4 separate regions of the Homo sapiens genome follow, and regions 2, 3 and 4 are each linked to region 1. Evidence: promoter capture Hi-C in 16 types of primary human blood cells and fetal thymus (Javierre and others, 2016). All regions are on one chromosome and are shown on one strand. The core of a region is centred on a gene start or on the middle of the fragment in contact, and the rest is flanking DNA. Distances in the headings are between cores, read along the strand shown. Region 1 holds the start of SP9 (Sp9 transcription factor). Region 2 overlaps OLA1 (Obg like ATPase 1). Region 3 overlaps OLA1 (Obg like ATPase 1). Region 4 overlaps OLA1 (Obg like ATPase 1).

Region 1 (3,021 bases), core at 234-2,733:
GGCTACCCTGGAGAAGAAAGAGAAAGCGGGGCCCAGAAAGAGAAAAACAAGCAGGTCAGCGGTTGCTGGGGGACTCGAAGACGCACCCTGGTCTGCTTGAGGACGCCTCTTTTCACACTGACAAGGTCCAGGGAGGACTTCAGGATGCTTCCAGCCTGCAAAATGTGGAAGCGCCCACGTGTGGCCTGGTCCTCCGCCCTCCCGGGTGAAAGTCCTGGAGAGATTTCTCGGGCGCGTCCGTGAAAGCAGGGCACTAATGGGGAGCCTACCTCTTAAAACAGCGCACTTGCCCTACGGACGAGCCTCTAGGCCCTGGTGGTCTGGAATGGGAGTGGGTTGGAGCTGGGACAAGAAAACTCCACTCCAGGATGAAACGCGACATGCAAATCTTCACCGGGTTAAACAAACAGCCGAGCAAGCTGCAGCTTCAGCGGAGGTGGAGGTGGGGGCGGACGCCGCTCGCGCCGGTCTCTGTTTCCAAAGTTGTTACAGTGAGAAAATAAGCGGCTTCGTGCAGCGTGTTGTATGGGCTGATGCCTCCCACCCCCATGCCAGCCCACAGCAAAACCCGGCAGATAATCAGCACATCCCACTGTTTAGTCATATTTGACAACTGGGTTAACCTGGTATCTAAGCGCTGGCGAAACCGTACAAAGGGTGCCCTCAATTACCACCAGAAGCCTCTAGCGTGAGTGGCACTTGTATTACCCCCCGGGTCAGAGGCCAGAGCGACAATTAGGAAGTCACTTACACCGCTGGGGGGAAATGGCGGGATGCAGCAGGCTCCAGGCCCTCCCAACAAATCTGTGGATGTAGATCTGTACAGAGAGGCCTATTTCGCTCCTCTCGGAGGAGCTGTCCCTTCGCGCCCCCTCCCCAGTATAACTGTGAGAGTGAAATTGAATCTAGTGGAATAAGGAATTGGGTAGAAGACACACGAAAATGATAAAAATCACAAGCAAGAATGATAGATACAAGCTGAAGTTGTGTTCTGTAGGCAAAAGCCTGGACACACAAAGTGAGGGCTCACATTTCCGTCTCCACTTGGGCCCTGCTGGTGCGGGCTGTGTCTGGGTGTCTCCTCCCCTCCTGCCTCCTTTCCTACAAGTGGGGAGTCGAGTAGGACTGTCAGCCCTAACTTGCAACATCTCGGGGTGGTTTGTGTGTGGGGGGGTGCTTGTGGCTCGGTTTCATTGGTACTTAAACCTGGCTTGGTGCGTGAGTGTAAATTTTTAATTGCACTGTAATTTCTTCAGTCCCCAGCCCGCCCTCGCCCCCCCCCCGCAAGTATCCCCCACTACTCCCCCCCACCCCCGCGGCCCTAGCTAGCTGACTTGACTGGCACGCGCCGGGAGCCCGGGCTCGGGCCCCTCGGAGCGTCTGATTGGCTGCGGGGCAGCTCCGGTCTGCTCTGCCTGCGCCCTCATTGGGCGAGAGGCGCAGCCAGCGGCACTTCAAAGCGGGTGCTCCTCGCACTTAGGCTGAGTTTAGCCGGCGGGAGCCTGGAGTCCGCTCGGCACGAGCGCGGGGACGCGGGAGCCGCGCGGGACCCAAGCAGTTTTTCCGAGCAGCCGCCAGGCTCAGCCCCGCTCCCAGCCTCGCTGCGCAGCCAGAGACCTGCTATGGCCACGTCTATACTCGGGGTAAGTCGCAAGCGCGGCAACGCATTTGCTTGTTTTAACCGGAGTAATTTTTCGTTATGGCTTCTGGGGTCTGCGGCTCCGGAGAAACTGTTGCTGCTAGACTGCAGCTTCAGCTTCTATTAGCACTTTCCACATTTCTGGGACTGATTTTTCCCCAAGTTTTTGGAACCCAGAAAGATGCCTTTGCAAGAAAAGGCCTTCTTAATCAAGTCCTTTTTCATTTGGTTTCAAAAAAAAGCTAGAGGTTTCTTTTCTTCCCCTCGTGATTTATACCCCATCCCCCGCATTGCTTTGGGGATTTTGTTGCAATTATGCGACAATGGTGTTTCCAGAAAACAGTCTTAATCGTTTTGCAGTCCATCTAGTCACGCTAATAAACATTTACATTTCCGCGGCTCCCCAATTCGCCCATGACTTTGAAATCTGTCTCTGGCCGCTTATCCTCGGATTATTGTTTTCATAATCGCTGTTTTTGTGTGTATGTAAACTTTAAAACCAAACGTTTTCTATTAAAAAAGAAAAGTCAAGTCGTAGCCACCCTGGGAGAGCTGCAAGTTTCGCCCGTCCCTGGCAGCTGTTTCGGCCGCCTCCGCCCTCACCCGGTGTTTGTTGTCTCTGGTCTCTGTGTTTACCTTCGCGCTTCACCCCGAAGGGCGACTTGGGGTCTTCTGGGAGATGAGCCGGTTTACGGCGACAACCCAAGTCCGGTTGTAGGCAGGGTTGCAGCGGGGAACACGGAGGCATCTTTGATTTATAGCCTCAGCGAAGTGCAACTTTCCGGCGCCTGGACCTTCGCCCGGGTGATCGCCCCTGCTCCGCGCCCGGTGCGGCGACTCCTCCGCGGGCGCGTGGGGAGGAGGCGCGAGGCGGGGAGCCAGGACCCCCCGGGAGCAGCCGCAGGGGACGAGGCTGCTCACGGGTGCACTTTGTTTCTTCCCCCACTTCCTCTTGCCCTCCTCCTTCTTGCTCCCTCCCCCATCCCACCCACTCTAGGAAGAGCCGCGCTTCGGAACGACCCCGTTGGCCATGCTGGCGGCGACCTGCAACAAGATCGGCAACACGAGCCCGCTGACGACGCTGCCAGAGTCGAGCGCCTTCGCCAAAGGCGGCTTTCACCCCTGGAAGCGCTCCTCGTCCAGCTGCAACCTCGGCTCCAGCCTCTCGGGCTTCGCGGTGGCCACCGGGGGCCGTGGCTCGGGCGGCCTGGCGGGCGGCTCGGGCGCCGCCAACAGCGCCTTCTGCCTGGCCTCCACGTCGCCCACGTCGTCCGCCTTCAGCAGCGACTACGGCGGCCTCTTCTCCAACTCGGCGGCTGCCGCGGCGGCAGCGGCCGGGGTGTCCCCGCAGGAGGCGGGTGGCCAGTCGGCCTTCATTTCCA
Region 2 (3,021 bases), core at 377-2,876, 220 kb before region 1:
TTGGAAAATAGTTTTTAGAGAGAAGTCCATACAATTAAAGATACAATTTTAGGTACAATTTTTTAAAAAATACCACTCTCAGTTGGCATTTTCTAATTAGGTTATAATGAATTTTTAGTCTCAGATTTTATAGTGCATGAACTGTCTAACAACAAAACCTTACCTAAATGAAATTCATAGTAATAGGAAATGTGACTGGTATATGACACATTTCTCAGGCCTTGTCTACCTTTCCAGCATCACCAGTGCCCCAGTGCTGAGATACTATGGCTTAGCAGTTAGTGAGGAACATGAGCTCTGCAGATGAACTGCTTACAATTGGATGTCGGCACCACTGACTGGTTATGTAACTTTGGCCAAGTTCCTTAATCTCTCCATACTTGCTTTTCATTTCCTTAAAATGTGGGTAATAATGGCACCTACTTTACAAGCTTGTTGGGAATCTTAAATATAACTGGCATAAGGTCAAGTGTGAAGTGTTGACTGAATGACGACTACTACAAATACAACATTAGGCATACAAATTATCTGCCATTGCTCTACCTCATAGTGCTGTGGTTTGAATGTGCCCCCCAAGGTTCGTGTGTTAGGAATCCTAAGCCCCCAGTGCAATGGGATTGGGAAGTGGGACCTTTAAGAGGTGGCTAGGTCATGAGGGCTCACCCCTTATGAAGCAATTAATGCTGTAATCATGGGAGTAGGTTAGTTATTTCAGGAGTGGACTCCTGATACAGAGAATGAGTTTGACCCACTTTGCTCTCTGTCTCCCACTTGTTTCTGCCTTCTGCTCTTCTGCCATGGGATGACCCTCAGAAGATGCCAGTGACATACTCTCAGGCTTCCTGGGCTCCAGAACCATGAACCAAATAAATTTCTCTTCTTTATAAATTACCTAGTCTGTGGTATCTGTTACAGCAGCAGAAAACAAACTAACACGTGATATTCTCTCATTTCCCTATTTCTATAACATCAACTCCCTCACCCCATCACTGAAGAATTATTATTATTACTATTTTTGAGATGGAGATTCACTCTTGTTGCCCAGGCTGGAGTGCAATGGCATGATCTTGACTCACTGCAACCTCCATCTCCCAGGCTCAAGCGATTCTCCTGCCTCAGCCTCCCGAGTAGCTGGGATTACAGGTGCCCGCCACCAAGCCCAGCTAATTTTTTTGTATTTTTTAAGTAGAGATGGGGTTTCACCATGTCGGTCAGGTTGATCTCAAACTCCTGACCTCAGGTGATCCACCCTTCTCAACCTCCCAAAGTGCTGGGATTACAGGCTTAAGCCACTGTGCCCAGTCAAATAATTATTTTTAACAAATTATGGTTTGCTATAACAGAAAAAGTTAAATCCTGTTTATCATATCAATATATAAAAACCAATCTGTGGTTACAGGTATGTTTTTGGGGGGTTTATTCTGTACCACTATTTTAGACTTGGCAATTTCATATAATTTTTAATTTCGGTTTCAATAAGAGCCATTGTATTTTCTCCACCAAAATTTTTATACATGATATTGCGTAAAAATGCAAGCTAAGGTGGGTCCTAAAATATATTGCTGTTGCCTCTTAACAATGTTATTAAATAGTTAATAAAATTACGAGACAAGGCAAAAACAGCAGCAGCAAATGCTTATTATCCTAAAAAAAAACCCACAAATGTTGTCTTGAGAATTGTTCTTTTTAACTAAAATCCTAATTTAGTTTATTAACTAAACAATTGGATGGAGATTAAACTTTCTGAGATAAAACAAAGCAAAATGCTAAAGTTGCTGACGTGATATTTTCAAAGATTTCTGGAGATTCACAAACATATCTTGTACTGTCGCTTAGCTGTCAGTCATCCTGTGTGGAACAGTCGCATTCAGGTCAAATGGATCTATTTCTACCACTTACCTGCTCCAAGAACTTGGGCATGTTTTATAATCTTTCCAACCGCCTGCCCTATCTGTAAAATGGGCATGATAATATCTGCTTGATAAGTATAATATCATACATCTCAGCAATTTCCAAGCTCAGAATGCCCATCACATAGCAGGAACTCAACAATAAATAATGGTTTGCTATGTATGTCTTTTAGTTTGGTATAAGAAAAGCTAAATCGGCCGGGCGCGGTGGCTCATGCCTGTAATCCCAGCACTTTGGGAGGCTGAGACGGGCGGATCACGAGGTCAGGAGATCAAGACCATCCTGGCTAACACGGTGAAACCCTGTCTCTACTAAAAATACAAAAAAAAAAAAAAAAAAAAATTAGCCAGCCTGGTGGCGGGCGCCTGTAGTCCCAGCTACTCGGAAGGCTGAGACAGGAGAATGGCGTGAACCCGGGAGGAGGAGCTTGCAGTGGGCAGAGATCGCGCCACTGCACTCCAGCCTGGGCGACAGAGCAAGACTCCGCCTCAAAAAAAAAAAAAAAAAAAAAAAAAAAAAAAAGCTAAATCAATTATATTAAATGGAGGAAGCGGGGAAGCAGGACATACAAAAGAAAAATGACAAAACTTAAAAGTCATGTTTGAAAACTGCTAGTGACCTTCATGTTGGACATCCATATACGTTCCTGGGGAAAAATCTTTTAAAATTTCATTTAAAAAGGCTAAAAATGATTACCAATGAACAGATGCTATTTGATCTTTTCCTTTTAAATTTCAAAATGGATTAAATCCAACAACATTTCCCACAGCCCCATAATACATTCTTTTAAAAGAATCTCTAAGGAAAATGCTGATTATCACCCAGGAATACTGATGACTACCCCTTGATTTCAATGACAAATATTTAAAGTACTGAAAAGGCACTGCTAAATCTTTGCTAATGAAAAGACAAAGCTTATTTCTCTCTCTGTTGGAGTAACCCATTCCTAAACTAATATGCAGAACTCTTATTCCAATGATGCAAATGCTTCATTTTGGCCAGGTATAGTGGTTCACACCTGTAATCTCAGCACTTTGAGAGGCCAAGGCACGTGGATCGCTTGAGCCAAGGAGTTCTAGACCAGCCTGGGCAACATGGGAAACCCTGACT
Region 3 (3,021 bases), core at 249-2,748, 200 kb before region 1:
TAACACTTTCTGGCTGAGTAATTTTGGGGAAGTTACCTAACCTCTCTCAGCTTGTTTCTGTGAAACTGTATAACTCCAATAAAATATGGTGATTGTGAAAATAAAACAAGAAAATACATGTAAAACAACTGGCAAGTTCTAGGCACACAGTAAATACTCAATAAATAATAATATTTATGGAGCTGGGCGCAGTGGCTCACGCCTGTAATCCCAGCACTTTGGGAGGCCGAGGCAGGCGGATCACGAGGTCAGGAGATCGATACCATCCTGGCTAACACAGTGAAACCCCGTCTCTACTAAAAATACAAAAAATTAGCCAGGTGTGGTGGCAGGTGCCTGTAGTCCCAGCTACTCGGGAGGCTGAGGCAGGAGAATGGTGTGAACCCGGGAGGCGGAGCTTGCAGTGAGCCAAGATGGTGCCACTGCACTCCAGCCTGGGCAACACAGCGAGACTCCGTCTCAATAAATAAATAAATAAATAAATAAATAAATAAATAAATAAATAATATTTATGGCAGAATGCATAATGTGATTCCATTTATGGTTTTGAAACTATATATAATATATATAAATAGACATACTCAAATAATGAAACTGGTTAGATAACACACTAAATAATTAGCAATAGAAATCTCTAGAAGGTTAGATGCCAGACAGCTTTTCCCTTTCTGCCTTCTTTTTAAAACTACAACATTTTAAAAAATTTTAACCAACAAATATCACTGTTATAATAGGAAAAAAATAAAGGTATATTCACAGGGTAAGGGGAGAGGGGAAACTTCATCTATTCTCTGTCCACCATCTGTAATCCTAAAATTTGATGGCTAAATGGATAGACTTGGTGGTTTATCAGGGTGACTCACTCTTATTCTGTAATAATTATAACTTCCAAGTTATACTTACCTTCAGGAAAACCTGTCACCACAATTCTAATGCTGATATCCAGATGAACTGACTTATGCTGGTTAGGTAGCTTTAACAAAGACAGCCAACAATGCACTCAGACTACAAGAATTAGGGCAAGGCTTCCGGTTCAAAACAGTCGCTAGAAGTCCACTAATACAGCATCCTCCAACTATTCCCTTTAAACACCCGAAATTGAAGAAAAAAAATCAAACTAAGCTTTCTCTTATAAAATAGACCTCCACTGTGTATTCTACTAATGATGTTTGGGATCTCTCTGAATCACAGTATTAAGCATTTGTTGCTCTACTAGATAAATGCTGCTATTTATGGAGGCAGGAGTACTGATCCCTGGACAACATCTTTCTATATACCTGAATGACTGAAACTCCCAGAAAAGGATTGGGCAATAATGAATGGAACTAGCAGTAATGCTCTACATGACTATGCGTGTATGGGGGTGAGGGGAACCCCCCAAGAATTAACACAATAGGCTAATTCTAGCAATAACCTTGGTAGAATACATGCTGCCAATTGTAGGCTTTCAGTTATATGATTCACTGAAGTAGATAGTAAGACCACCCCCAGAATATAATGTTCCTGGCCCCTGTCTGCAATAAAGTGGCAACCAAAATGGACACCAATTTACTTCTGAGGCATAGATCTCAGCAAAGGATCTGGCTATTAGTAAAGAGAAGAAGGCAACTGTCCCTATGATTCCTGAAAATAAGTTTGAATGCATTTTACCATGTTTGAGGAAGGGTCTGGAAGTTGTGGGGAAGCCAACAAATCTGATTTTAATAAAAGGAATACTGATAATTTATGGAAAGTAGAGTCATAGAAAAAACACATCTTTAAAAATGACTGAGAAACAAAAAAACCTCAATGAATTATTTGTCATACTTAGTAGAATGCAAAAAGATAAGAGCATCTACACAATAGGAGCAGATGAACTGACTTATGCTGGTTAGGAAGCTTTAACAAAGACAGCCAACAATGCACTCGAGGTCACAAAAAGAGAACAGTGAGGTTAGAAAAAAATGGATGAGATATATCTAGAGAGTTGATAAAAGTACAAATATTTTTAATGAAACCAAAATCAAAGTAGGAAAATAAATACATTCAGTATAACATATCTAAGTGCCCAAATGAACTACCAGAGAATGAACACGTCTGTAATTACCACCCTGATCAACATATAGAAGATTATTAGTAGTACAGTTACAATGTTCCACTCCTCTTCAGAGATAATCACTACTTCTGGCTTCTTTGCATCACAAATTAGCCTGTTATTGAAACTTATAGAAATAATCACACAATATATATTACTTTGCGTCTGGCTTCTTCTGCTCAATATTATTTGTGAATTCATCCATGTCATTCCATGTAGCAGTATTGTGTTTTTCTCTGTGGTATAATATTTCACTGTAGGAATAGTGCACAATTTATACATTCTACTGTTAATGGACATCTAGGCTGTTTACACTTTAAGGCTATTAGGAATAAAGTTGCTATAAACATTCTTGTACATATATTTTGGTAAATTTGTGCATGCATTTCTCTTGAGTATATACCTAAGACTGGAATTGCTTGGTTGTAGGTCAGGTATTTATCCAAACTTCATACATATTGCTAATAAATTTTCAAAAGCAGATGTACTAATTTATACTCCCATCAGCACTGTATGACAATTTCATTTGCTTCACATTCTTCCCAACACTTGGTATTGTCAGTCTTATTAATTTATGGCAAGTGTATGGTATCTCACCGTAGTCTGAATTTGCATTTCTGTGGTGATTAATGAGGAATTTCTTCTTTTGTGAAGTACTTGTGAAGTCTCTGCATATTTTTCTATCAGGCTGTCTTTTTCTTATTTATTTGTAGGAATTCTTTGTTAGATGCTGCAAATATCTTCTTTCTCTGAGGAATGGCCTTTTATGTTCATGAAAGAGATTCACCTATAATTTTTCTCTCTTACATTGTAAGATTTTGGTATCAGGACTATTCTGACCTCACACAAGTTTTTCCTCTTTTTCTACTGTATGGAAGAGTGTGATTGAGACTTTACATGTATAGTAAAGTCATCTGGGTCAGGACATTTCTTTATAGTAAGGTTTA
Region 4 (3,021 bases), core at 247-2,746, 160 kb before region 1:
TATCAGAGAAAATCAACTGATAAAATGAACATCCTAATGAAAAATTTTGTTCTTTTAAAGACAGAATTAAAAAAAAAAAAAAGCCAGCCACAGACTAGGAGAAAATTTCATATAACATATACTTGACAAAGAACTTGTATCCAGTTCTTTGATACTGGATCAAAATAAGACAAACAATCCAATTAAAAATGGACAAAAGATTTAGACAGATACTTCACCAAAGAAGATATACAGTTTGGAAGTAAGCAAATGAAAAGATGGTCATCACTAATAGGCTGGAAAATAGAAATGAAAGCCACAATATTCTCTATAATGCCTAAACTAGAAACAATTGACAATATCAAGTGCTAGAAAGGATGTGGAGGAACTGGAACTCATATTGCTGGTGTGAAATCAAAATGTTACAGTCACTTTGGAAAACAGTATGGCAGTATTTTATAAAGCTAAACATACAGTTACCATACACTTCAGCTATCCCATTTCTAGATATTTACCCAAAAGAAATAGAAACATATATCCATACAAACATTTCTACACAAATAATTCGTAACAATAAAAACTGGAAACAATTCAAATGTCCACCAGTTAATGAATGGATAAGCAAAGTGATAATATTAAAGGCTACATAGTAATAAGAAAGTATTAACGTACACAATATGAATGAATATCAAAAACATTATGCTAGATCTAAAAAAAGTCAAACAGAAAAAACTACATACTATATGATACTACATGAAATTCTAAATATGATAAAAATGCAACAATAGAAAGCAGATCAGTGAGTACTTAAGCATAAGGGTTAGGGGAGAGGATCAACTGCAAAAGGACACAAATAAACATTTTAGGATGATTGAAACATTGTGTATTTTGACTGTGACAGTAGATCTACGACTGTGTACAATAAACTTCATCAAACTGTACACTAAGAATATATGATTTTTGTTACATGTATATTTTACCTTAATGATGTCTGGAGAAGACACCATACAGACAAACTTGATATACATACATTATCTTTGATAAGGTTTCATACTTGATTACTAAAGTTCAACATTATAGGCTGATATGAAATTAACTAAGATTGAATTTTACCTATTCTGAAATCTTAATATGGGAGAATAGCAGTTTATAATAATTTGCTGTTAAATGAATTTCAAAAATTATTTTGGCCTCAGGTTTCTGGAAATAAAAACAAAAGTTGATTTAATAAAAACAAAAATTGGAAAAAATATCAATTTAAAATACATGTCACAAATATGCATAATAAAAAACAATTTGAGGGGAACCAATTTGCTATAGGGGATTAATTACTTTCTACTTCTAATGATTTGGGGATTTTCCTAGACTCATTCTCAATGACCAGGGGCTTTTCTAAACTCCTTCTCAGGTGCCCCTGTGCTTATGCAAGAAGGCTCTTGAAATAGTACTCTAGGATATTAAAAGCTAAACATTTCACCGTGGTAAGGTCTTACACCTAGAGAGACAAAGAGCTCTTTACCACAAAAAAGTGGGAGGTATGGGGATGAATTAAAATAAAGTAAACAATGCATGTTTCTGCGAAAACTTTATTTTCAAAAAGAACCATTTTATTTTAGATGCTAAACTCATCAATTCAAAATTTTGTTTTCAAAAGATTCCCTCAATAAAGCAATTCATTTCTGTGCTATTTAGTTTGCTGTATTTTTACAAGCACCAGACTGAGCAAACCATGATTGAGAGAAGCCATCTTATGCACATTGCTGTTGTCCCACATCATTCAGAACAAACCTTTTTAGATCGTTAACTACCACAGGAGTGCTGATTACACAGGCACCAGCAATTTCCTAACCAATGACCACCTGAACAATGATGTGTTCAGCTTCTCAGACCCTGCAGCCTTTCAAAGGTGAATCATTTCACAGTTTGGAACTAGATCTCCATAGCAACTTCCCTTTGAGGGTTTTAGAATCACCATCCAGTAATTCTATGATCATCAAGCTCAACCATTCCCAATGGTTCTTTTCACAGCAGATGGAAAAGGAAGCCTTGAAATTTTACAGTCTATTTCAAGCAATTCATCTGGCAGCCTATTAGAATTCAAAATATTTCGACCTTCAATCACAAAGCATGTTATCTGAAGCTGTGGTGATCTCAAGTCAAGACAAGCAGACGTTTTAGTCTAATCATCCATGATGAGAAGAGACTGACAAAAACTCTTAATTCAACCACCATCAAAATGCTTATTTTAACTGCATGAAAGTCTTTCAACAGGCAATGAAAACATACCATGTGCCATTTTATCACAACCTTCTGTTCAAGGAAAATATGAATTCTGAATATTGACATGCATCTCTGCACTTCTTAGACTGCTTGGAACAAATATGTTTCTTAAAAGTTAGCATAAATCCAATTTAAGAGCACTATTATTCACTGCTGCAAAAGCTAGAAACCTTAAGCAAATAGCAATGGACTTTTGACAAAGTCAGCTAGCTTAATAAAATCAAGTACATTTGGATTTCTTAAATTTTTTTCAGACTTTTGACAAAGTCAGCCAGCTTAATAAAATCAAGTACATCTGGATTTCTTAAAGTTTTTCCAGACTTTTGACAAAGTCAGCCAGCTTAATAAAATCAAATACATTTGGATTTCTTAAATTTTTTTCAGATACAACCTAAAATGATTAATCAGAAAATTAATATCAACTCCTCAGGAAATTAATATCAATTAAAAGGAAAGAATAGATCTCAAAAAAAACTTAATTTACAAAAAGTTGTTGACTTTTCCCCAATTCAACTAATTCTCTAGTGATTTCAAAATATACTAGCCCTATTTTTAAAACACTGAATTAAACCACATAAAAAAGCTGTACATTTCAAATTGCTACTGAACAACAGTTAATTTATCCAAACTCTTTTTATACCTAAAGTATAAATGCTTTTAGGTATAAAAAGATATAAATAAATGCTATGTAATAATTTCATTAATGTTCAGTATTTATTATAGGTATTAGCCAAATACAGGCATTTATTTCAGTATTTATTA

The links. Contacts are between HindIII fragments. The CHiCAGO score rates a contact against its expected background, and 5 or more counts as called.
Region 2: a contact is called between a fragment that was not itself captured here and the fragment with the promoter of SP9 in region 1, in 1 of 17 cell types (M2 macrophages). The highest score is 5.2, in M2 macrophages.
Region 3: a contact is called between a fragment that was not itself captured here and the fragment with the promoter of SP9 in region 1, in 1 of 17 cell types (M2 macrophages). The highest score is 6.1, in M2 macrophages.
Region 4: a contact is called between a fragment that was not itself captured here and the fragment with the promoter of SP9 in region 1, in 1 of 17 cell types (M2 macrophages). The highest score is 6.5, in M2 macrophages.

What each region holds. Positions count from the first base shown.
Region 1 is chr2:174,333,471-174,336,491 of GRCh38, forward strand. SP9 (Sp9 transcription factor) reads left to right here and starts at 1,484. Exons shown (of 2, transcript NM_001145250.2): 1 at 1,484-1,643; 2 at 2,637-3,021. The coding sequence starts at 1,623. It overlaps LOC102724194 (a long non-coding RNA gene), which reads right to left and starts at 1,506. Exons shown (of 3, transcript XR_427194.5): 1 at 270-1,506; 2 at 87-155. The HindIII fragment of the contact is 13,141 bases long and covers 1-3,021 here.
Region 2 is chr2:174,111,941-174,114,961 of GRCh38, forward strand. The region is part of intron 7 of OLA1 (Obg like ATPase 1); the gene reads right to left. Among named protein-coding and RNA genes, the nearest start is that of LINC01960, 88 kb to the left of the region's middle. The HindIII fragment of the contact is 2,394 bases long and covers 430-2,823 here.
Region 3 is chr2:174,128,997-174,132,017 of GRCh38, forward strand. The region is part of intron 5 of OLA1 (Obg like ATPase 1); the gene reads right to left. Among named protein-coding and RNA genes, the nearest start is that of LINC01960, 110 kb to the left of the region's middle. The HindIII fragment of the contact is 756 bases long and covers 1,121-1,876 here.
Region 4 is chr2:174,175,229-174,178,249 of GRCh38, forward strand. All of the region lies in intron 4 of OLA1 (Obg like ATPase 1), which reads right to left. Among named protein-coding and RNA genes, the nearest start is that of OLA1, 72 kb to the right of the region's middle. The HindIII fragment of the contact is 3,940 bases long and covers 1-3,021 here.